Linked DNA regions of Homo sapiens: all the other regions are linked to region 3. Evidence: promoter capture Hi-C in 16 types of primary human blood cells and fetal thymus (Javierre and others, 2016). All regions are on one chromosome and are shown on one strand. The core of a region is centred on a gene start or on the middle of the fragment in contact, and the rest is flanking DNA. Distances in the headings are between cores, read along the strand shown.

What was found. Contacts are between HindIII fragments. The CHiCAGO score rates a contact against its expected background, and 5 or more counts as called.
Region 1: a contact is called between a fragment that was not itself captured here and the fragment with the promoter of STARD6 in region 3, in 1 of 17 cell types (naive CD4 T cells). The highest score is 6.1, in naive CD4 T cells.
Region 2: a fragment that was not itself captured here is called in contact with the fragment with the promoter of STARD6 in region 3 in 1 of 17 cell types (non-activated CD4 T cells); the score reaches 6.0 in non-activated CD4 T cells.
Region 4: a fragment that was not itself captured here is called in contact with the fragment with the promoter of STARD6 in region 3 in 1 of 17 cell types (non-activated CD4 T cells); the score reaches 5.9 in non-activated CD4 T cells.
Region 5: a contact is called between a fragment that was not itself captured here and the fragment with the promoter of STARD6 in region 3, in 6 of 17 cell types (total CD8 T cells, naive CD4 T cells, total CD4 T cells and 3 more). The highest score is 12.9, in total CD8 T cells.

Annotation. Positions count from the first base shown.
Region 1 is chr18:51,168,091-51,172,390 of GRCh38, reverse strand. No RefSeq gene overlaps it. Among named protein-coding and RNA genes, the nearest start is that of MEX3C, 27 kb to the left of the region's middle. RefSeq lists an enhancer at 3,655-4,235. The HindIII fragment of the contact is 1,111 bases long and covers 1,803-2,913 here.
Region 2 is chr18:51,141,951-51,146,896 of GRCh38, reverse strand. No RefSeq gene overlaps it. Among named protein-coding and RNA genes, the nearest start is that of MEX3C, 53 kb to the left of the region's middle. The HindIII fragment of the contact is 5,127 bases long and covers 331-4,946 here.
Region 3 is chr18:54,354,869-54,359,862 of GRCh38, reverse strand. It overlaps STARD6 (StAR related lipid transfer domain containing 6), which reads left to right and starts at 2,005. Exons shown (of 8, transcript NM_139171.2): 1 at 2,005-2,071; 2 at 3,419-3,502. It overlaps C18orf54 (chromosome 18 open reading frame 54), which reads right to left and starts at 1,957. Exons shown (of 9, transcript NM_001288980.2): 1 at 1,788-1,957; 2 at 993-1,089. RefSeq lists enhancers at 1,371-1,440, 942-1,453. The HindIII fragment of the contact is 3,120 bases long and covers 23-3,142 here.
Region 4 is chr18:51,207,448-51,211,740 of GRCh38, reverse strand. No RefSeq gene overlaps it. Among named protein-coding and RNA genes, the nearest start is that of MEX3C, 12 kb to the right of the region's middle. The HindIII fragment of the contact is 3,160 bases long and covers 1,009-4,168 here.
Region 5 is chr18:51,190,239-51,194,860 of GRCh38, reverse strand. The region is part of intron 1 of MEX3C (mex-3 RNA binding family member C); the gene reads left to right. Among named protein-coding and RNA genes, the nearest start is that of MEX3C, 5.1 kb to the left of the region's middle. RefSeq lists a silencer at 1-162. The HindIII fragment of the contact is 1,962 bases long and covers 1,876-3,837 here.

The DNA of each region.
Region 1 (4,300 bases), core at 1,109-3,608, 3.2 Mb after region 3:
CTCCATATTCATTTATCTGCATTTTAAAGGATAGCATTTGTACACCAGTCAGGAAAACTTCATAAGGAGGATAAGTGATTAGATATTTTAAATAGTAAATGGAGTTCACTGGTCAGAGATTGGAATTGGGAGGGAAAATGGCTGAAGAGAAACCACACATTTCTAAGCCCTTGGGGTGAGTTTAGATCCTCATTAGTCTCATGGAAAATGGGGATATTTGTAACTTGATTACTAAATGAGCTGTAAAAATAGACTTCCTGCTGCCTTTGAATGTGTTTTAAATGATAAATCTTCAATCTCTAAAAGCATGTGCGTAAGTACTTTCCTTTTGTAATGTGGAAGTTTTAAGAAGGAACTACAGTATTCAGCTGAGTTTAAAACAAAAACTGAAAAGAACTGGCTTAGTAAGAAGAGGCTTGCTAGTTTAAGAAGAGGCAGTAAATGAGAATCAAGATTATATAAATCTGCTCAATTCCTACCAGTAACATTTCAGTTTACCCAAAGCTGCTAGCAGTGTTATGCATAATTTACTGCATATATTAATATGGAGCATGAGGATGGGACAAATCAGTCACACCATCTTCAGGGCTGCACAAAACTTAAGGATACAAACATGACCTGTACCATAAAGTAAGTCAGATGGTGGTTCTTCTAAATTAGAATCTTCTTGGATAAGTCAGCAATAGTTTGCCTGTATTCAAAATGGAAAATCTGAGGGTTTCTGATTTAATCCTGAAACTGAGTGTAATTACTTAAAATTTGGAAATAAAATGTAGATATTCCCCTATATTAAAGCATTAAGGCTTTTATATCTGTTTCATGACATTTTCAAGATCAGAAACACTGAGTGGAACTTTTGACATGATCTGTTTCTGCAATTTCAGGGAAATTACCAAAGTATCACAAGGGACATGAATGGGTAGTGGTTTCAAGTCTACTTGAGTCAGATGTGAAGTGCTAGGCATTATACCTTAACGATAAAACTAGGGCTAGGTGCAGTGGCTGATTGATGCCTATAATCCCAGCACTTCGGAAGGCCGAGGCTGGAGGATCACTTCAGCCCAGGAGTTCAAGAGCAGCCTGGGTAACAGGGAGACCCTGTCTCTAGAAAGCTAAAATTTCAAAAAGGATTGAGGGAATACTTGATAATTTGTGGATTTGGCTAATGCCCAACATGTGTAAATTAGCCAGGTTTATTAGGTGACAGGAGAATGTGATCATAGAGTTAATAAATAGCAATACCTATTGAAAAATTATTAGTATTGTTGAAGTAAAATTTTCTGAAAGACCATTTAAAACAACAGAGAAATACTGGACAGATAGACTGTGTTGCCCAGGCTGGCCTCAAGCGATCCTCCAGCTTCGGCCTCCCAGAGTGCTAGGATTACAAACATGAGCCACTGTGCCCAGCCTACTTAGGATGTTTTTTAAAAAATCCTGGAAGCTCTAGTTATCTAGAGGCTAGGCAGATCTTTCTAAGTTTGTGTCATCAGTGGATGGGTGAAGGTTCTCAGAATTCATATTCTGAGAGCTGCCATCTCATTTGAATTTGAGAAAGCAAACTCCAAAATCTGCTTCTCTTGGACTGTTCCCAGTGGCTTTTCTTGAACCACACATAATCCAATGAAAAGATCTTATTCTCATGACTAGAAACTTGTGAGAACTCTTGAGTCAGTCGTCTTTTATGTTTTCCTAAGCAGGTGATTCCAAGTGCTTTTTCAAAAATGCATCCTTATGTTGAAGATTGTATTTGTGGTCAAGGATTTCAGAAATGGTCCCTTTTCTTTGCTAGTAGGCAAGCTTTTTTGATGTTCCTATTACTTTAGATGGTGCCCTTATCTTTTTAACTTTCCCCAGGAATAGCATCCTTCTGCCATCCCTTCCACCGTCACCACTACTTAGACACCCTTAGGTGCCACCCCTTCCCGAGAAAAGATAGAATCAGGACTCCACACCTCTCTCCCCCTGGGGTCTTAAAATCCAAGTAGACCAATGAAGGGAATTTAGTGTGTCACCTTTTAGAGTACATCTGATTTTTCAGTCATTTCCTATGCTTTCCAAATCCTGGTCATTACACCTAGAAACTGCTCCTGGGCTAGCCCTACAAAGGTGTCAAGGCATGGGAGTTGTAGAATTTCACTGTAGTCTCCAACTTGGGCTTCCATTTCAAGTTCCCTTATTTTCTGGCTTTGTCAGAGGGTACTTAATCCCATATTTTGCAGATTAATATTTTGCATCTCATTTTCCTTATCTGTAAAATGGAAATAATTGCCTCTGAGAACTGCCTGAAACCTAAGTATGAAACTAAGGCATAGAAATGCTTGCTGTGAAGTACATAATTTACTTTCATAGGTAGCATCCTCTTGTTCTGATTCTTTTAAAAATCCAGCATGACCCTGAAAATACTGTTGAAGTGCTCTGGAAGAGCAGTGTAAAGTAAAAGTGAAAAGCCTTTGGGGTTTGAAGCACTACCTTTAGTTGTGTGGCCCAGTTAGTACAAAGTGAACTCAGGTGCATAGTTTCACATAATCTTTACCATAGCCCTAGAGGTGGAAGTATTATCTCCATTTTTCAGAGAATAAAGCTGAGGCTTAAGAGTAAAAATTAATAAAGAGTAAAAAATAAGTAACAGGCTTAAGGTAAAAATTCCCAAGTCTAAAGGCATTTTCAGAAGATTCCATGGAAAATGCCTCAGTTGCTTGCAAATGTGAGCATTTTTTATTTAACTGGGCATGCCAATCAAAATATTTCAGTGGCCCTTTTTAATGATAGGATTAATTCATATCCTCAGACTGTCATGATCATGAAGAGCTTGAGCTAGTTAAGGCACAAATAATTGTTTCAGAATCGATTTGTTGATCCAGTGAGCACTTGCCTTGCCAAGCAAATGAAATGTCAAAATCAGTCAAAGCTTTGGTGGAGTCAGAATTTTTACTTTTAGTTTCATCTTTGATGCCATAGCATGAGCAGATAGTGGCCCAGCCAGATAACTTTGTTGACTTTTTGAAGGATTGGTCTTTTTCTAGAATAATGCAAATCCATTGACTTAAGTGTTTGTAGTTCTGAGTATGTAGTTTGCCTTGTCCTAGAGAGAAAAATCAAGAATGGGGGATGGACCTCATATTTTATTACTATGTGATGCTTTTTTTTTTTCTTCCTGGACCACATTTGTTTTTTTGTTTTTGCTTTTGCTTTTTTTTGAGACAAAGTCTCACTTGCTCTGTCACCCAGGCTAGAGTGCAGTGGTGTGATCTCGGCTCATGGCAACCTCTGCTTCCTGGATTCAAGTGATTCCCCTGCCTCAGCCTCCCGATTAGCTGGGATTACAGGCGGCCGCCACCACCCCTGGCTAATTTTTGTATTTTTATTAGAGAGAGACGGGGTTTCACTATGTTGGCCAGGCTGGTCTCAAACTCCTGACTTCAAGTGACCTGGACCACATTTCAACCCCTAGCTTCTTTTCTGTTCTGGCCCATTTTCTATTGCTTTTTCACATCTTTCCAAAAGGCTATTTAAATCAGTCCACTGACCTATGAGTCTTCATTCTGATCCCAGTGTCTCTAACATACCCTTGACTTATAGCTGCTAAAAGTGTACCAATTGAGAAGAGGGTTGGTTCTGCTTCCGGGGACGGCTGCAGGAGTTTAAAGTTGCTGCCAGATCCGACACTTGTAAGCCTGTTTCCTACCCACCTCCCCTTGTATGGGTGGGCTAACCTCAACTTCTCCCTTTAGCTCAGGGGTACTCAACCTTAGTACTATTGACATTTTGGGGTGAATAATTTGTTGGGGGGTAGGAGGCTGTCCTGTGCACTATGGGGTGTTTACCAGCATCCCTGGCCTCCACCCACTAGATGTCAGTAGTACACACACACACACACACACACACACACACACACAGTTGTGACCATCACAAATGCCTTCTGACATTGAAAGCCAAACCCTCATTAGCCAGTCCAAGGCTTAAGCAAGTTCTAGGTTGAGTACTTGAGTTAAGCATGCTCCTAAATGTTTCATATACAATGACACTTAATCCTTAAACTCTATGAGGGAAGTAGTACCCCCTCCTACAGATGAGAGCCCCATCTCAGAGATGAATGAACTTGCCCAGGGTTACACAATGAGACAAAGAATGGCATTCGGCCATTCTGATGTGCATGTTCTTCACCCCTGCTGGGTGCTGCTTCCTCACATTCCAATTGAAATGCCACAGTCGGGGTTCCTAAGCCCGAGGACCCCTTTACAAAGCTGTCTCTTGCACTTCCCAGGTTTTCTCTAGAGATCTTGCTGCCAGGCAGCCA
Region 2 (4,946 bases), core at 1,645-4,144, 3.2 Mb after region 3:
CGGCATTCCAGCCTGAGTGACAGAGCCTGTCTCAAAAAAAAAAAAAAAAAAAATGAAAAAAGAAAAGTCCAGAATAAGAGAAACTCTACCAATGACCTGGTTTTTTAAAACAAATTATGAGAGAGACAGAAGAAGAGGAAAACTACAAATTAAGAGACATATAAAAACAGTTTTTAAAAAGTCAAAATTAAACTGTAGTGTTTAGGTATTTATACTTGGATGACAAAATCATGAAGACAAGAAGATAATTACCATAAAAGTCAGAATAGTAGATATTCGGGTGGGGTAAGATGATGGCTATGATTAGCAGAGGGCACTTGCTTGCAAGCTTCTATCTTCTTACATGAGTGGTGGTTGCAAAAATATTCACCTTATAAAAATTCATTAAGCAGTACATTGTTTTATGTGATTTTCTGAAGGTGTGTTATATTTAAAAATAAAAAGTTTTTTGAAAGTCAAAATCATAAAAACATGATTCACAAATTTGACCTGACATATATATAGAACACTGAACCCAACAACTACAGAACACATATTTGTTTTAAGGACACAGACAATTTACAAACATATATCAGGTTTGGGGCCATTAATTTGCAACAAATGCCAAAAAAAAATGAAGTCACAGAATATATTCTTTGACCACTGTAGAAATGAAATTTTAACCAATTAAAAGATCCTATAAAATCTCCATATGTTTGGAAATTCATAAACTTCTAAGTAACACTTAGATCAAAGACAGTATCAAAAAGTAACTTAGAACCAAATATTTATTTTCTTTCTTTTTTTTTTTTGACGTGGAGTTTCTCTCTTGTTGCCCAGGCTGGAGTGCAATGGCACGATCTCGGCTCACCGCAAGCTCTGCCTCCCAGGTTCAAGCAATTCTCCTGCCTCAGTCTCCCGAGTAGCTGGGATTATAGGCATGTGCCACCACGCCCAGATAATTTTGTATTTTTAGTAGAGACAGGGTTTCTCCATGTTGATCAGGCTGATCTCGAACTCCCGATCTCAGGTGATCCTCCTGTCTCAGCCTCCCAAAGTGCTGAGATTACAGGAGTGAGCCACCATGCCCGGCCAGAACCAAATATTTCTGAACCAAGTAATAATATGTAATATAAATCTCTAAACCTGTGGCATGCATCCAACACTATGCCTAGAGAGACATATATACCTTTAATTGCACAACTGAAAAGGAGAAATACTAAAAGTTGACGATCTAAGCATTCTTCTAAAAAAAACTTTTTTTTCAAAGAAGGCAAATTAACCCCCCAAAAAAGTAGAAGGTAAGAAATAGTAATGATAAAAACAAAACGAATAAAATACAAAACAAATAAAATAGAGAATTCAACAATGCTGAAAATTGGTTATTTGTTCAAAAAAACCAATCAATGGCCAGGCACAGTGGCTCACGCCTGTAATCCCAGTACTTTGGGAGGCCGAAGGGGGTGGATCACCTGAGGTTGGGAGTTTGAGTCCAGCCTGGCTAACATGGTGAAACCCCATCTCTACTAAAAATACAAAATTAGCTGGGTGTGGTGGCACGCACCTGTAATTCCAGCTACTCAGGAGGCTGAGGCAGGAGCATCACTTGAACCCAGGAGGTGGAGGCAGAGGTTGCAGTGAGCTGGGATCACGCCACTGCACTCCAGTCTGGGTGACAGAATGAGACTCCATTTCAAAAAAACAAGAAGAAGAAAGAAAGAAATCAATCAATAAGCTGCTGAGTAATTTAGAAAGGGTGAAATCCAAACAACCAACATGAGGAATGAAATAGAAGCCATCACTGCAGATACCACACATATTCAAAAGATAATAAGGGAGCTGGGCGTGGTGGCTCATGACTGTAATCCCAGCACTTTGGGAGGCCAAAGTGGGCGGATCACTTGAGGCCAGAAGTTCCAGACCAGCCTGGCCAACATGGTGAAACCTCATTTCTACTAAAAATACAAAAATTGGCCAGATGTGGTGGTGCACACCTGTAATCCCAGCTACTGGGGAGGCTGAGGCACAAGAATCACTTGAACCATGGAGGCAGAGATTGCAGTGAGCCAAGATCCTGCCACTGCACTCCAGCCTGAGTGACAGAGAGAGACTATCTCACAGAAAAAAGAAAAGACACTTTGGGAGGCCGAGGTAGGGGGATCACAAGGTCAAGAGATCGAGACCATCCTGGCCAACATGGTGAAACCCTGTCTCTATTAAAAATACAAAAATTAGCTGAGTGTGGTGGCTCGTGCCTGTAGTCCCAGCTAGGCAGGAGAATCGCTTGAACCTGGGAGGCGGAGGTTGCAGTGAGCCAAGATCATGCCACTGCACTCCAGCCTGGCAACAGAGCGAGACTCCATCTCAGAAAAAAAAAGAAAAAGAAAGAAAGAAAAGAAAAAAGATGATAAGGGGATATTATGACAACTTTGGGCATTACACTGGAAAATTGACAATGAACAACTTCTTAACAAAAATACCCCTTAATCAAAACTGACACAAGAATAGAAAATCTAAATAGTCCATATATATCAAGGAGATTAAATTTCTTATTAAATCCTTCCCCACAAAGAACACTTCACTTCCAGACAGCTTCAGTGGTAAGTTTTTACTTTTAGGGAAACCCTTTCACTACTGTTACACAACTTTTCCAGAGAATAGAAAAAGAGGAATAATTCCAAACTTATTTTTTATTTTTATCTATTTATTGAGATGGAATCTCGCTCTGTCTCCCAGGCTGGAATGCAGTGAGCAGCATGAGCTCTGCTCACTGCAACCTCTGCCTCCCGGGTTCAAGCGATTCTCGTGCCTCAGCCTCCTGAGTAGCTGGGATTACCAGCATTCGCCACCACGCCCAGCTAATTTTTGTACTTTTAGTAGAGATGGAGTTTTGCCAAGTTGGCCAGCCTGTTCTCGAACTCCTGACCTCAGGTGATCCTCCTACCTCAGCCTCCCAAAGTACTGGGATTATAGGCATGAGCCACTGTACGAAACTTATTTTTTTAAAACATAGCCTTGATACCAAACCTGACAGCAAAATTACAAAAAGGGAAAATGTTAAGTCCAGTGTCATTAATATCAATTTTTGAAATCCTTTAAAAAATTAGCAAACCAAATCCAATGATATATAATATAAAAAGGATAATGTATCATGGCTAAGTGGAGCTTATTTCCAGACTGCAAGAGTGACAGCTTTGGAAAATCAATCATTATAATCTACCACACTTTCATAATGAAAGTGAAAAATCATATTATCTCAATAAATGCAGAAAGGACCAGTATAGCAAGATTTTGAAATACAAGATCAGTATAAAAATCAGTTGCATCTCTAGGGTCCAGCAGTAGTTTGGAAATTAAATTTTAAAACAGCATCAAAAAAATTAAATACCTAGGAATAATTCTAACAAAAGATGTTCAAGATGCCTATGTTTAAAACTATAAAAACATTACTGAAAAAAAGATCTAACTAAATAAAGAATGATATCATGCTCAGAAATTGGAAGACTCAATATTGTAAAGATATAAATTCTTCCAAAACCAATCTACAGATTCAGTGCAAGTCCAATCAAAGTTCCCTTTTTGTGGTAACAGGCAAGGTGATTTTTTTTTTTTTTTTTTGAAATGGCGTCTCGCTCTTGTAGCCCAGGCTGGAGTGCAGTGGTGCGATCTCAGCTCACTGCAACCTCCACCTCCAAGGTTCAAGCGATTCTCCTGCCTCAGCCTCCCAAGTAGCTGGGATTACAGGCTCCTATCACCATGCCTGGCTAATTTTTGTATTTGTAGTACAGATGGGGTTTCACCATGTTGGCCAGGCTGGTCTCAAACTCCTGACCTCAGGCGATCTACCCACCGCTGCCTCCCAAAGTGCTGGGATTACAGGTGTGAGCCACCACACCAGGCCCAGATAAGGTGATTTTGCAATTCAAAAGGAGATCGGGTGCAGTGGCTCACGCCTGTAATCCCAACACTTTGGGAGGCTGAGGTGGGCTGATCACAAGGTCAGGAGATCAAGACCATACTGGCTAACATGGTGAAACCCCGTCTAATAAAAATACAAAAAATTAGCCAGGTGTGGTGGCACGTGCATGTAGCCTCAGCTACTCAGGAGCTGAGGCAGGAGAATCACTTGAACCCAGGAGGTGGAGGTTGCAGTGAGCCGAGATCGCGCCACTGCACTCCAGCCTGGGCAACAGAGTGAGACTCTGTCCCAAAAAACAAAAACAAAACAAAACAAAAAATTCATAAGGAACTGCAAAAGTTCAAGAGTAGCTAACATCATCTTGAAGAAGATCTCCTCTGTCAGGAAGCAAGATTCATTAGAAAGCTAAAATAAGACATTATACTGTTATACTGTATAACAAACATAGACAGACCAATTGATATGGTTTGGCTCCGTGTTCCCACCCAAATCTCACATCAAATTGTAATTCCCAATGTGGGGAGGGACCTGGTGGGAGGTGATTGGATCATGGGGGCAGATTTCCCCCTTGCTGTTCTTGTGATAGTAAGTGAGTTCTCACGAGATCTGGTTGTTGAAAAGTGTGTGGCATATCCCCCTTTGCTCTCTCTTTCCTGCTTTACTATGGTAAGATGTGCTTGCTTCCCCTTCACCTTCTGCCATGATTTTTTCTGAGGCCTCCCCAACCATGCTTCCTGTACAGCCTGTGGAGCTGAGTCAATTAAACTTCTTTTCTTTGTAAACTACTCAGTCTCGGGAAGTTTTTTATAGCAATGTGAGAACAGACTCATACACCAATGGGATAGAGATGGATCTATGGCACATGCACACTTATGGAAAAGGCAGTACTGCAGGACAGTGGGAAAAGGGTACTTATTTCTATTCAATAGCTCCATGGATATCCACATGAAAAAGGAAAAGAAATGTGACCCTACCACACAACATACACAAAAATCAATCTAGATGGTAGATCTAAAGATGAAAGGCAAAACAAGATTGCTTCCAGAAA
Region 3 (4,994 bases), core at 756-3,255:
CTCACCTCTTTCAAAGGAAGCTTAAATAATGTGAAAATCAACTCAATGTGTTCTTCTGTTTTTCCATTATTAAAATTGAGAGAATCCCTGTCTACCTCAGTACAGTAACAGGATGTATATTTGAAAACCTAAGAAATCACAGAACGAACCGGCACTAATTCAGTCCATGATGACATTCTTTTTAAAATTAAATGAATGGATTTCCTATACTAAAAAAGTATTAATGTTGAGGACTTAACATATGCTATGATGTTATAATGTTTAATTTTTGGCTATAATTTTAGAAATATTTGTTATAACAACTTTTAATGTAATCTTAGTAACTATTAAATTTGGCTTTAAAACATCGAAAGTTTTCTAATTAAATAAGAGACAAAGTAAAACATCATCCTACCACAGCGTTAGAGCATGCAATGGCCATTACAAGAGATCTGACCGTGGTCAGTGCAAATGGCAGAACATAAGGTAACAGTTGTTTCGTCTCATTGATTTATCTGAATTCTGTAATACTGGTATATCTCTGACGAATGGCTAAACTAAGCCAGCTTTACCTTTTTCGTATCCCTTTTATTTAAAGAAGTTTAAACTCACTCAAGTAAATTTGTTTGGATAAGCCTGACCAAATGTTTTCTGTCTTTGAATGCCGAACAGGCTACTGATTTTATTTTACAAAACCTTGAAAGAGAAAGCTGTTGTATTGGTCTCCGTAAGTGGGTGATAACATTTACTAGTTATTTCAACTCACAGGACAGACAAAAAGAAAATGCACAATTTAAGTTTCATTATGAAAAGTTTTCCAACTTTTCCCCAAAAGAGTATACAAAAGTAGAATCGTTCAATAAACCCCTATGTACTCATCATCCTGCTTCCAACAATCGCTGAACAGACCCCAATTGTAGCTAAAGTGGGTAGGGACCCACCCACTTCTCCCCACTTCAGCCACAGGATTATTTTGAACCCCACATATCTCATGCAAATCCCATATATCTTACCATTTCCTCCGTACAGGCTTCAGTTCGAATCTCCAAAAGAAAATCCATCACGCGGAAGAACAGAATGTTAAACTTATTGACAACAAATTTTAACTAACTTTGATTCAAAAACAGAATGTTCAGTGTTAAATAGCCAATGGGAATATCGCACAGGAAATTAAGAACAACTCTTGGAAATAGCTCTGTGACTGCTAAGTTAGGAAAGGGAACGTTTGTTTACTCGGCAGCAGAAAACCAGGAACCCACCGACCGGCCAGCGAAGGTCGCCCGTCTCCAGCAGTGCGCATCGTTCCCCTACCCCGGGCGCCCTGAATTCCAATTTTTCCAGTCCCAATCAGGCGACACCCTCCCTTTGGTGTTCCACCGCCCGTCAGTCACAGACACAGACAAGTTCTTCAGTGAGATGCTTTTCACTCCGAAACCATTTATTCAGCAGCCAGGGCGAGCGCAGCAATGGACTGAAGGAGAAGTGTTCCGAAGCGACAGCCCCAGAGCGCAAGCCCCTTCCTGTCGCCGCCTCAGGTCCGCAGACGCCCGTGTGAGCCCCCTCCGCCGCGTCCCGCGACCCTCCCTCGCCCAGGGGGCACTCCCCCTACAGTGTTCTTCCTTCCACAGAGACTCCACAAGCGCCCTCCCTCAGGAGACGTCTCCTCCTCTTTCCTCGCCACTCTCCTTTCGCCTTTTCTCGGCTGTCACAGGATGGGACAACCCTCGAAAAGACACCCTCCTTTCCGTCCTAACTCACCCCTAAGGCCCCAAAATAAAAATAAAGGAAAACAAAAACAAAAACCGCACACTTCCACAGCTCTCCGCCGAAAGCTCAGGCCTGTTACCCAACGCGAGACACCACAAAGCATCCCCAACCCGGACACCGCCCCGCCTCAGGCTCGGCTCACTCGCAGCTTCCTCCGCAGTCACAGCAGAGCTCGACACCCGCGCTCGCTTTCAAACCGCCCCAACATGGCGCCGGCCTGCGGTGCGCATGCGCGGCAGTGGGGCGCCGGGCGCGAGCGGAGATGAGGGAGCGGCCGGAGAAGAGAGGATGCTGTTGAGCGTTAGGTCGCGACCCCTGCTGGAAGGTGCTGTTTCTCCCTCCTTTCTGGGGCTGGGAATGGGGGGATGTGGGCTGCATCCAAGTCGCTGCCCCCCACGCCCTTCCAACCTCCGTCACAGCTATTCTCGGCCAGTTTGCGCGGGGACTTGCTGATCTCCCTTCAGCCGGCCCCGGGGTCTGCGGGAGGGGACTGGGTGGGGAGGGAGACTTAAGGGCGCTGGCGGCTGTCGTTCCGGTCGCTGAGAGTCTGCCCCACAGCTCCAGTTTTTCCAAGTGAGTTCAGCCTCCCCGCTTCCAGAGCATCCCCCGCCAAAAATAAGATATCGTCTCAGCTAGTAGGCAGTCCCCCCTCACCACTTCTTTCACTCCCTCTTCAGTGCCTTTCCTCTCACACCCCGGAGCCTCTCACACACAAAGCAGATGGGAGATTGGAGACCCGAGTTTAGCCAGGGATGGGATTTAACAAACTCCTAGGAAGCCTTGATTCCCAGGGAAGAATGGCAGTGACCCCGCACGGATTGGGGACCCAGTCAGGCAGCTCAGAAAGAGGGTCATTGTACAAACAGATGTAAAGACTCACTAACATGTGTGAACCTGTCTGTAAGTCTGGAAGGAATCCAGTTTCAACCAATTGGTGTATCAAAAAAAGAGGCCATCCCAATGTTGGTTTATGTTTATTTTCCACTGACCCTATGAGTGAAGATATCCTTGACCATGAGTCCATCTGAATATGTTCCAGCTCATCCGACGTTCCACCACCATGTAATACAATTGTAGTCTTACTGTTTGCACTTTCTTCTTTTTACCCTTTGTAGCCTACTAAATTTTACCTTCCCTTTTCTCTTAGCAAATGAAAAAGTCCGGAAGCTATAACGTTCAGTTTAGTGGTTAAACACAGGTCTATTGTGGCAGTAATAGTTGGTGATTTGAAAATAAGACATACCCTGCTAGTGGTATGTCCCAATAATCTTCAAAGTCTCTAGATCAATTAATATCAAGTAGGTTTCCAATAGGAAATCAAGAACGGTGTTTTATATGCTAAGACGAGCCCTGGTCGGGGATTAACAATCCTTGTTAATTGTTAGTGACGTAAGCTTAAAAACTTAAATTTTTGTATCCACGTTCCACCTAAGTGTCTTTTTAAACTGAGTTCCTTTAAAATAGTTTCTTAAAGATTCTTTTTATAAACAGTATCTTTTAAAGTTTTTTGTACTATATTTTTCTTTCATCTTGGGGCATATATGTAGCAAATGTTTCCTAATGAAGACAAAGTATAGATAAAGGACACTGAGAAGATATAAAGAAAATTATCAAATATATTGACCTAATTCATGGATCAAAATAATTCTACTTCTGCCTTGTTTCCTCACAGGTTAAGAGATATGGAGATTTCCACAAGGATTTGGAGAGGAGCCCCAGTAGTTACTAAAATTCTGCATTAGATCTGTCAGGAAAGGTAAAGAAACCAGGACTCTGCTAGGAAAGAGGAGGTTATAATAATGGTTTACTAAAACTTTTCAAATATAGAGACTATCAACTACCTGTTGTGCCTTGCTGGAGAATTAAATAAGAGAAAATAGATTTATGATCCAACCTGAAGAGTTTTAAGTGAGAGCTAAGGAAGAAATGTTCCAATAATTAAACTTTAAGAAGGTTTATTTAAGTGCTTAAGGAAGCAGATCTTTGGAGAGTTTTTTAAATGATGGATTTATATGTGTCCATTTTTTTAAAGAGAAACTAACTATTTTGATAACCTAGTATAGGGCTCCACACTGTTTAAAGCATTTTTACATATATTAACTCAACTAATCCTTATAATGATTCGGTGAGATAGATATTATTATCCCCATTCTATAGATATGGAAGTTGAAGTTCAAAGGTTAAGCAATTTATCCAAAATAATATAGCTGTACTAAGTGACAAAGTCAGGATTTGAATCCAGTTCTGTTTTCACCTTACCTGCCAGCTTCCCCTAACTGAAAGCTGGATGATGACCCGAAGGACCAGTGAGACTGCAGCTTCCGGAACTCATTCACAGCAGTAATAGTTATGTCTAGTATCTTACTCAACTGTTGTTGCTACATCTACCACAGTGCCTGTCTCAGTCCTTTTGGGCTGCCATAAGAAATTACCAAAGACTGAATGACTTGTAAACAATAAATTTATTTCTCAGAGTTCTGGATCCTGGAAGTCTGAGATCTGGGTGCCAGCATGGTTAGGTTCTGGTGAGGGCCCTCTTCTGGTTGCAGACTGCTAACTTCTGGCAGTGTCCTCACATGGAAGAAGGGGCCATTGAGCTCCCTGGGGTCTCTTTTGTGAGGGCACTAATCCCATTCATAAGGGCTTTGCCCTCATGACCTAATCATCTCCTAATATCACCCTGGGAGTTAGGATTTCAACATATGAATTTTAGGGAGACATAAACATTCAGTCCATTGCAGTTTCTAACTTCAAGCAGGGTTCAATGTGTTTAAATTGAGTTGATTTAAACTTGATCCTATCTGAGGAGGTGACATTTAAGCAAAGATACCTATGAAACAGTCAGTTATATGAACACATTGCAGAAGACAGTGACAAGCAGAAGGAACAGCAAGTACAAAGAACCTGAAGTCAGAAATTGCTTTATTGTATGTGAGGAACAGCCAGGAGATCAAATGATTGGAGCTAAGTGGACAAGAAGAAGACTGGTAGGAGGTATATTTGAAGAGGAAGCCAGGGGTCAGATCGTGTAGTGCCACTGCTACGCACTTTAAATAATCCTCAAGAACACATAACCAACAGCTCATAATGCTTCACAAGACAAAGGACGTGTGATTAAACTGTTAGAAATTAAAATTATTTATTGAATGACTATCGCATGCCAGGCACTGGATAGAACCTTAAGCATATCATCTCATCTAATCCTCACGCTAATTCTACAAGACATATATTATCCTAATTTTACCTTG
Region 4 (4,293 bases), core at 1,339-3,838, 3.1 Mb after region 3:
ACAACTCTGCTCGCAGATATAATCTCCCTTGTACGGAAGGGAAACTGAAGTTCAAAGAAGTTAAATCATTAAGTAATGCATTGTTCATATGTAGCGAGGCTGGGACTTAACCGCTACTCTGCCTGAATCTTTACACAAGAAACCAACCCATCCACAGTAGATGGGCCTCCAAGCAGAGTCTAAACCCCTTAGCCTTTTCAAATTTCCAGGTTTTGCTTCCTCTTGTTGCCATATATCAATCCCTCATTGTAATCAGATGTGTCTACTCACCTCCCAATCCCACCCCTGAGGCTCCCAAGTCTGTGGGCTTCTCTTTTGCCTCTGTGTCTTTACTTGTGGTAATTCTCACCAAGAAACTGCCTTTCCCCCTCTTTTTTACCCATTTAGAGTCCACCTCCCCTAAATGTCTGCTTAATTTCACTACTTCCGTCAAGACTTTACTATCTTTTTTTTTTAATTATATCTTCTCAAAATGCCTACAATATGTTTCTCTGGCATCCACTGAATTATTAGATCCTTGCCTTCCATGCCCTCGTGCATTCTAACTTTCAACCATTCTGCCACCTAGATTATGAGTCTTTTGTGGTCTAGTGCATGACTTATATTTCCTTGTATTCCCCATATGTTTGGTACAATAACTTGTAAGAAGTTAGTCAATATTTGTTGATCCGTGTCTTTCTCCTCCAAGGGGCTGTATTACCAACAGGGTCTCACTCTGTCACCCAGGCTGGAGTGCAATGATGTGAACACAGTTCACCGCAGCCTCAACCTCTTGGGCTTCAGCAATCCTCCTGCCTCAGCCCCCCAAGTAGCTGGGACTACAGGCACACACCACCATGCCCAGCTAATTTTTTTTTATTTTTGGAAGAGGTGGGGTTTCACCATATTGCCTAGGCTGGTCTCAAACTCCTGGGCTCAGGCGATCTGCCCACCTTGGCCTCCCATCGTGCTGGGATTACAGGTGTGAGCCACCATACCATGCCAAGTCATAATAATTCTTGAAAAGCTTTTCCCCTTTGGCAAAATATTAATTTGATCTTAAGACTCAAATATTTGGACATTCCTATTACATTGGTAATTTTCAAGAGTCAAGATCATAACAGTTGTAAAATGCTGAGAGTATAGATAAATTATTGGGAAATTTACACTAGCAAATATTTAGTTTACCTCCTAATAAACCGCTAATAAACACGCATAGAGAATTTACTACCAAATACCACTATATGGAATGTTTTATTGATGTACCTTAATAGTAGTTCATAGCATCTAAAGAGACGCGAAATCAATTTTAGAGGACCTTAAACTTATTAAACATTACTATTTACTTTCTACCAGATTTTACAATGTTACTTTATATAATAAATAGAAGTTACAGGAAAACAAAATATGTTTGGGGAATATGGAAAATGATCTAAAGATTGTTTTATATTGGAGGTTAGAGTACCTGTTTTAACTAGCAAGGCTTTGAAAATTGCATGAAACTTAGGAGATGATAAATGTTTACAATTTGCATCCACATTGTTACTAACACAATAGCCTGTTAAATCCCTTGGCAGGAATATGAGCAGACTGCAGGCCATCCACATTATTCATCTAGGGGGAAAAAACATTATTCACAAATTTTAATTGCTCCTGTGACACCAACAGTCTGAAAATGAAACATAAAAATGTAGCCTTTGGGAAGTTTTACTGTGCAACGACTTTATGCAACCCTGACCAGAGGGATCGATGTCTCTATCACAATTACACAAAGACCTGAATAAAATAAGTTAATAGTTTCAACTCGGGTCCTAGTGAACCGTTGACATATTTTAAAATTCATTCTATCCACTGTAAACTCAACAAGTCCTACACCTGACCCAAAATAAATAAGTCACCACCTCCCCTAAGAACCAGTGCCCTGAGGGAGAGGTTTTAGCAGAGAGATTTACATTTAGGCTCTCCAGGTAAAGGGAACCAGCCGTTGCCTGCCTAGAGAATTAGGTTGACCTTCCACCTCTAAAGCTAAGACTTAGAGGGTTGCAAAGAAAAAGAGGAGGATTGGCAGGAGAGATGGTGAGAAACACCAAATCAGAGAAGTGACCTTTAGATTCAAGCTACAACAGAAGCCACCGACTGTCATGAAACCCTTGAAACCCTAGAAACATTTACCCCAGACTCACTCTACCTGCAGCCCTCCCCATTAAGAGCAACAGCATCTTCTGCTTGCACAGGCCAAAAACCTTGGAGTTTGCTGGCACTGTCTTCAAAAGTGTGTCCCAAATCCCACTGTTTCTTGTCACTCTGCTCCTCTTTGTGTCATCTACACTCAATTCTCAACATGTTTATATATAAGTATCACTTTTTTTTCCTTTTTGGTACCAATTCCTTGCTTAAAACTCAGCAATGCCTTCTCATTTCCCACAGAGTAAGGCTGAAATCCTTTAATTTTTTACTTTTTTTCTAACAGAGACAGGGTCTCACTCTGTGAGTGCAGTAGCTGGAGTGCAGTAGCACCACCTCAGCTCACTGCAGTGCTGGGCTCAAGCAATTCCTCCACCTCAGCCTCTCCCATACCTCCAACTATAGGTGTGCACCACCAGGCACAACTAATGAAGTCCTTTAAATGGCCTAAAAGTTCTGCATGCTCCACTCCTAATTTAGCCTTCACTCTAGATGTGTGGCTCTTCCTGGAACACTTTTTCCCCAAATACCCCCTTGGCTAACTCCTTAACCTGCAAATCTTTGCTCAGACATGACCCTCTCAATCAGGCCTACCCTGACCCACCATCGTGGGTCAGGATCCTGCCCAAGACCCCTGTAGTTGATATCCTCCTTACCATATTGCACTCTTGTTTATATATATACAGATGTGTGTGTGTGTGTATATATATATATATATGTGTGTGTGTATATATATATATATATGTGTGTATATATATATGTATATATATTTATTTTAAGATGGAGTCTCGCTCTGTTGCCCAGTCAGGTTGGAGTGCAGTGGCACAATCTCAGCTCACTGCAACCTCTCCTTCCCAGGTTTAAGTGATTCTCCTGCCTCAGCCTCCTGAGTAACTGGACCACAGGCACATGCCACCACACCCAGCTAATTTTTGTATTTTTAGTAGAGACAGGGTTTCGCTATGTTGGCCAGGCTGGTCTCAAACTCCTGACCTCAAGTGATTGCCTGCCTCAGCCTATATGACTGGTATTACAGGTATGAGCCACTGCTCCGGGCCTTTGTTTTTCATATAGCATTATCACCTTCTAACATGCTGTACAATTTATTTTGTTATATATTGTTGTTTAACTTTTGTGCCCCACCCCCCTTATAGAATGTGTAGGTTCTGCAGAAGAAGGGATCTTTTTTGTTGTTGTTCACGAATGTGTTCCAGATACTTAGAACAGTGCCTGGGACATAGTAGAGGCTATGTAATTATCTGTTAGATAAATAAATGAATTCATGTTTTATCTGTGAAGAAAATGAGGCACTAACAGGATAAGTGATTTTTAAGCTAAAAAGCAGCCAACTCCCCTTTACTGCATGTCCCCCACGGTCTCTGGAAGATGTATTCCATAGGTTAGGTTATAATGGCAAATTGACATTTTTGTCAGTGTTAGAATACAGTGGTAGAGAAGTTCAGTTCTACATCAATGAATCTTAGAAGTTAAGAAAACGATCATTTCACATTAACTCCTTTTTTTTCCTATCTTTCTTTCTTTCTTTTTCCCTTTTTTTTTTTTTTTTTTTGAGACAAGAGTCTTGCTCTGTGGCCCAGGCTGGAGTGCAGTGGCGTGATCTCGGCTCACTGCAAACTCCACCTCCTGGGTTCAAGCAATTCTCCTGTCTCAGCCTCCTGAGTAGCTGGGACCGCAGGCGTGCGCCACCATGTCCGGCTAATTTTTGTATTTTTAGTAGAGACAGGGTTTCAATATATTGGTCAGGCTGGTCTCAAACTCCTGACCTCAGGTGATCCACCCACCTCGGCCTCCCAAAGTGCTGGGATTACAGGCATGAGCCACTGGCACCCAGCCTTCCAGCCTTTTTTTCATTTTTCTTTTTTTCCTGACCATTAGATCATCAGGAATCATGTTATCTGAAACTATCGCAGAGTGGTGAGAGTACAGGCACTTTTTAATGTCTTCTTTATCTTTAGTAGAACTCTAGATTTCTTTTTTGGAAGCTTTTCAGTTATGAGTTTAATTTCCTTATCATTATAGGAATATTTAGGTTGTTTAATCTTGGTTGAATTTTGGTACTATATAGTTTTCAAAACGTTGGTCCATTTCTTCCAAGTTGTTGAATTTATG
Region 5 (4,622 bases), core at 1,607-4,106, 3.2 Mb after region 3:
AGCCTAGGTATAATTGCCAAGTAGTGTTGTTTTGATACTTGAGGTCTGTAAAGGGGAGTGGTGGAAAAGGGGGAAGGCAGGCGTTCACACCAGAATGTGAAGAAGCCTGAATGCCATATGAAGATGCCACTTCTCAGGACAAGTTGCTTCCGTGTGCTTATGGTAACAGTCTAGGGTAACAAAGGAAGAAAACATTTACGTGCCAGTTTTACTGAAGGACAAGATAACATATTTTATAGATTTAGTTTAATACAAACTTTAGTCCTTCATTATAGTAGACACCCCTTAAAGCACTGCTAAATGGCCCTTACTTGTGTATGTTGTTAATCTTTATAGAAATCAGTTTTTTAAAAGTAAAGTGAATTCCAAGTTTTTATTTTGTACCAGCTATTACGTGATAGGAAATGAGATAAAGCCTTAGTTTTTCTTTTGAGGGCTGTGTTTATTTGGTTAATAAGGAAATGTTGAATTTAATTATGTCTTAGATCATGGAGACAAATTGCTGGCTCTTCCATTTAAACCTTGTATTTTCCCAGAGTTGACAATACTGTTAAAAGTATGTCATCATCCTCTATCTTAAAAGCAGAAAATCTGGTCCTTTTGCTGTTCTGAACCATACAACTTGTGGATCATTGACCCCTTTGCCACCCCCATGTCCCAGCAGCATAGTAATAAACCTGTAAAGTGTTTGCTCACTCGTATGGAGAACGAAGTGACTTCTAATGTTCACATTCTTTTACAGTATTATATTTCCCCACGGGAGAGAATCTGTCCTAAGTAAGTAAAACAGGGCAAATCATTTCATTTTCTTGTTTGCTTTGAAGGAGCTAAACTTTCATCCTTAAGATTAAATTATCCATTTCTGCCATTTTATGTATTACCTGAAGCCATAATTTTCTATTTGACATCTCTTAATTGATTTTGGAAATAATTATGTCACAGATGGAGACATTTATGACTTCAGCTCTGAAGCAAAGAGCAGGACAAATGGAATTCTGAGTCACATAGACTAGCAACTCATGTAGATGGCCTCTGAGTTCCAGTGTTTTTCTAAAACACAAACTACCGCTTTTGATACTGATGAAAGTTGGCAGAGTGTTTGACCTCGAATTTATACTCCCCAGTAGCATATGGTCATTTGTAAATGTTAAATTGGCCTTGTTTTTTAAAGCATTGCATCTGTTGTGAAACAACAATACTGTAAAATAAAGCCAGGAACTGAAGAGGCTTGTTGATATAATCAAAGAAGTTTTAGAATATGGACATCAAAAATAAACCTGACAACAGATTTTAAGACCTAATTTTATAAACTTAGAACGTCTCTGTTTTTAAGTATAGTACCTGCAAGACATATTAACAGTGATTAACAGGTCTAATTTTAGTCAGCAGGTTTTGTTCCAATTTGTACAGTCATTTATATCCATTTAGACTAAAAAGTGAATTAAAATAGAACTGTATACCCATTCTTAATACATTATAAATTAATACTAAATGTCATAAATTCAGTTGTTTAGAGACTTGTAACCCAAGATTTTGTATTACTATTAGGATAAATGTGTATCTTTCATTAGACTTTAATTAATGGTCTATGTGTGTTCTCTAGCCACATAGTCTAGAAAAGTCGTCTCTAGCTTCTTTTTATTGTACACCCTGTCCAAAAAAAATGTGCATACTCCCAATATCTGGATATTTATGTATGAATAGTAAGTGTGCTTAATATATTACACATTATAAAACAAAATTCTTTATTAACAATTAATACTTTACACTGTTTCAATTTGTCTTCCCAATTTCTTAGGGTGGAACCACCCTTCAAGCTCTAACACAACTGAAATAGGGTTTATACGTCTGTGACCAGGAGAAAAAGAGAAAGCTTGGTCTTGCTGTACATAAATTTTCTCTTCAAGGAGAAGTACATATTTCATGAGAATAAATAGTTTCAGAATGATGCTACAGCACAGTGTCTTTTTCTTTTATGGGGATGAGGGTGCATTGTTGGACTTCTCTTTGCTTAGTACTATGTTAGGTGCTTCACCAGTGCCGTTTAACCCTGCTAGGTGGTTACTGCCGTTTAGAGAGGTAGAAACAGAGGTTCTGAGAGCTAACTTGCTCAAATAGTTGAGATTGGATTTAGCATAGTTTGACATCAGAAATAAAATTCTTTGTACTCTACATTGCCACTTCAGTATTGAAGCATTCTGCTCTGGAAGGTTAGTATTTTGGATTAACTTGTGCCCTAATCGTAGGATACTGAATTTCTAATATGCATAATTTAAAATACCACTATCCAAATTAGTTTACTTGATAAAATTTTGGTGTCTGTACTACCCACAAGGCACAGTTTTAATTGTAATATAGTTCTAATGTGTCCAGCTAAAAATTTACTGTCATTTGTAGTACAGAAAGTTAATTTGCGTATATATATAGACACTAGCTTTAAAAATTAAATATTACAATTTTTCTAGGCTTTAAAATTTAAATTTCGTTAATAATGGTTTGTATTAGTTCTGGGACCCTTGAGAAGGGTTCAGTTACTGTAATTGTTTTTGCAAATGGGTGGGGAATCTACTGCCTTTCTTCCTGCCTTATTCAGCTAATGAACTATTCTGATTCACTAGGGAGGAAATGGGAAATGAAGTGGTAATTCAAGGGTGTATTTTGTACCCCTTGGTTACCAACAACCTGAAAATGATCCAGGGAACCAAGTATTTGTGTTAGTCTGTTAGAGATTTCTATCTAGAAAATTTTCAAACAATGTTTATAGGTTGGAATTCTAGGTGGTTCTTTACAGCGTAAGTTTTTAAGGAAAGGTAGCATTTAGTTATAAGGGAATGCTTAATATATTGCTGATTTGGTTTTGAATACTTTTGCCTTAAACATAAAAATGTTTTAGTATGTGTATTTTAATATCGTAGCTTATACAATATGTAAAAATACCTATTGTAGCTACACCAAACTGCCTGTGACAGTCTCTGTTCAGCTGTGGTATATTGGAAAGAACCAAATCAGAAATAGATATTCCTGTGCCAATAACTCACTGTGTAATCTTGAACAAGTCACTTAAACTCCCTAGGCTTCAGATTCCTCTTTTGCACCTGGGCATAATCATATCTACAATTCCTGTAGAGACTCTGGAAGATAAAGAAATCGACATATATGAAACTGTAAGTGCTAAGCACATTACTTTTGTTAAGGTAAATCTGAAATTAATTTGGAACCACCGTTTAATCATGTCCACCTTTTTTGGCTTTAGCAGATAGTTTGACTCATTATATTCTTCCAATGTAATAGAACTAGAACCAACGGATATCTGAATGCCTTTTAGATACTTGGCACTTCTGTCAAGATGGGCTTGTTATGCTGTGGTTAACAAAGAACTCTGACACCTCAGTGTTAAAACAACTATGGTTTATTTCTTGTTCATAGGGGCTCTGCTCATTTTAGTCATTCAGGGACACAGGCCAACAGCAGCCACCATCTCCAGTGTTACTGATCTTCTGTTGTGCCAGAAGATGAAAGACTACAGCATAGCACATACTGGTCTTAAAATGTTAGATCCGGAAGTAATGCTTATCACATCTGCTCATATTTCATTAAAGCAAATCATCTGGCCACACCTAACTTCAAAAGGCTGAGAAAGTATATGACAACTATGTGCCCACAAGGAGAGCCATGATGACTACTACAGTACTATTTTATAATTTATAGGATTGTTATAGAATTCTAAACAGTGTCATTCCTGCCATGTAGAATTTGTAACCAAACTCAAGATGAGAAAGTAGATAATGTTCATAAGATACTAAAGGAGTGTATTTGCACTTAAAAATAAAAAAAGCTTTTTAAGAAGCTCCAAGTAGATCATGGATAGTTATGTTTAAATCTCCATTGATATTCAGGTGATCCTTAAGTGATACCTTTTTTATTAAACTGCATTCTTAATGCTTCCCAAGTAGCTTATATGCCATAATTTGTGGATTTACTTTTAACATTTTCCCCATGCTACCATTAGTTACTATATAGAGACTTACAAAGATTAAATCTGATATTTAAGCCTTGAAAATAATTTTCTAATGTTAGGATTACCAAACCCAGATATACTAAATTGAATGTATGCATAGTCTAATACTGTTTGAGTAGTTCAAGTCTTTATTCTATAACTGACTTTGAGAATTTTAAGTTACACTAACTATAGGACCTCTTCCATGCCAGTGTTTGAGATGTAAGGACACTTCAAGTGTTTGTTGCCCTTGTCCGGTAAGTACGGACTACAATTCCTCATTGCATGCAGAGAAGCCTGGTTTGGTCACAAGTAAAGTCTATCATGGAATAATAAGACTAAGCCTTAAAATAATAAAAGAAAATCCTTTAATGAAAACTGCAGATGTAGTTGAAGGTAAGCATAAGTAATTTGGTCTTGAACATGATTGAAGGGGAAGTGGGGAGGGAATGGCTTCAAACAACTAGAAAAGATCTCCCAAAATGGTTACCAATGTAAAAGTATATATTTGCATTTGGGGCTGACCTTTTTATTATTATTTCCCTTCTCTGTGCCTCCCTTTCCCTTTGCCTTCTCTTCTGCCTTTCTACCAGTGCCATTTAGTATAATGCAGGAAAGGACATTG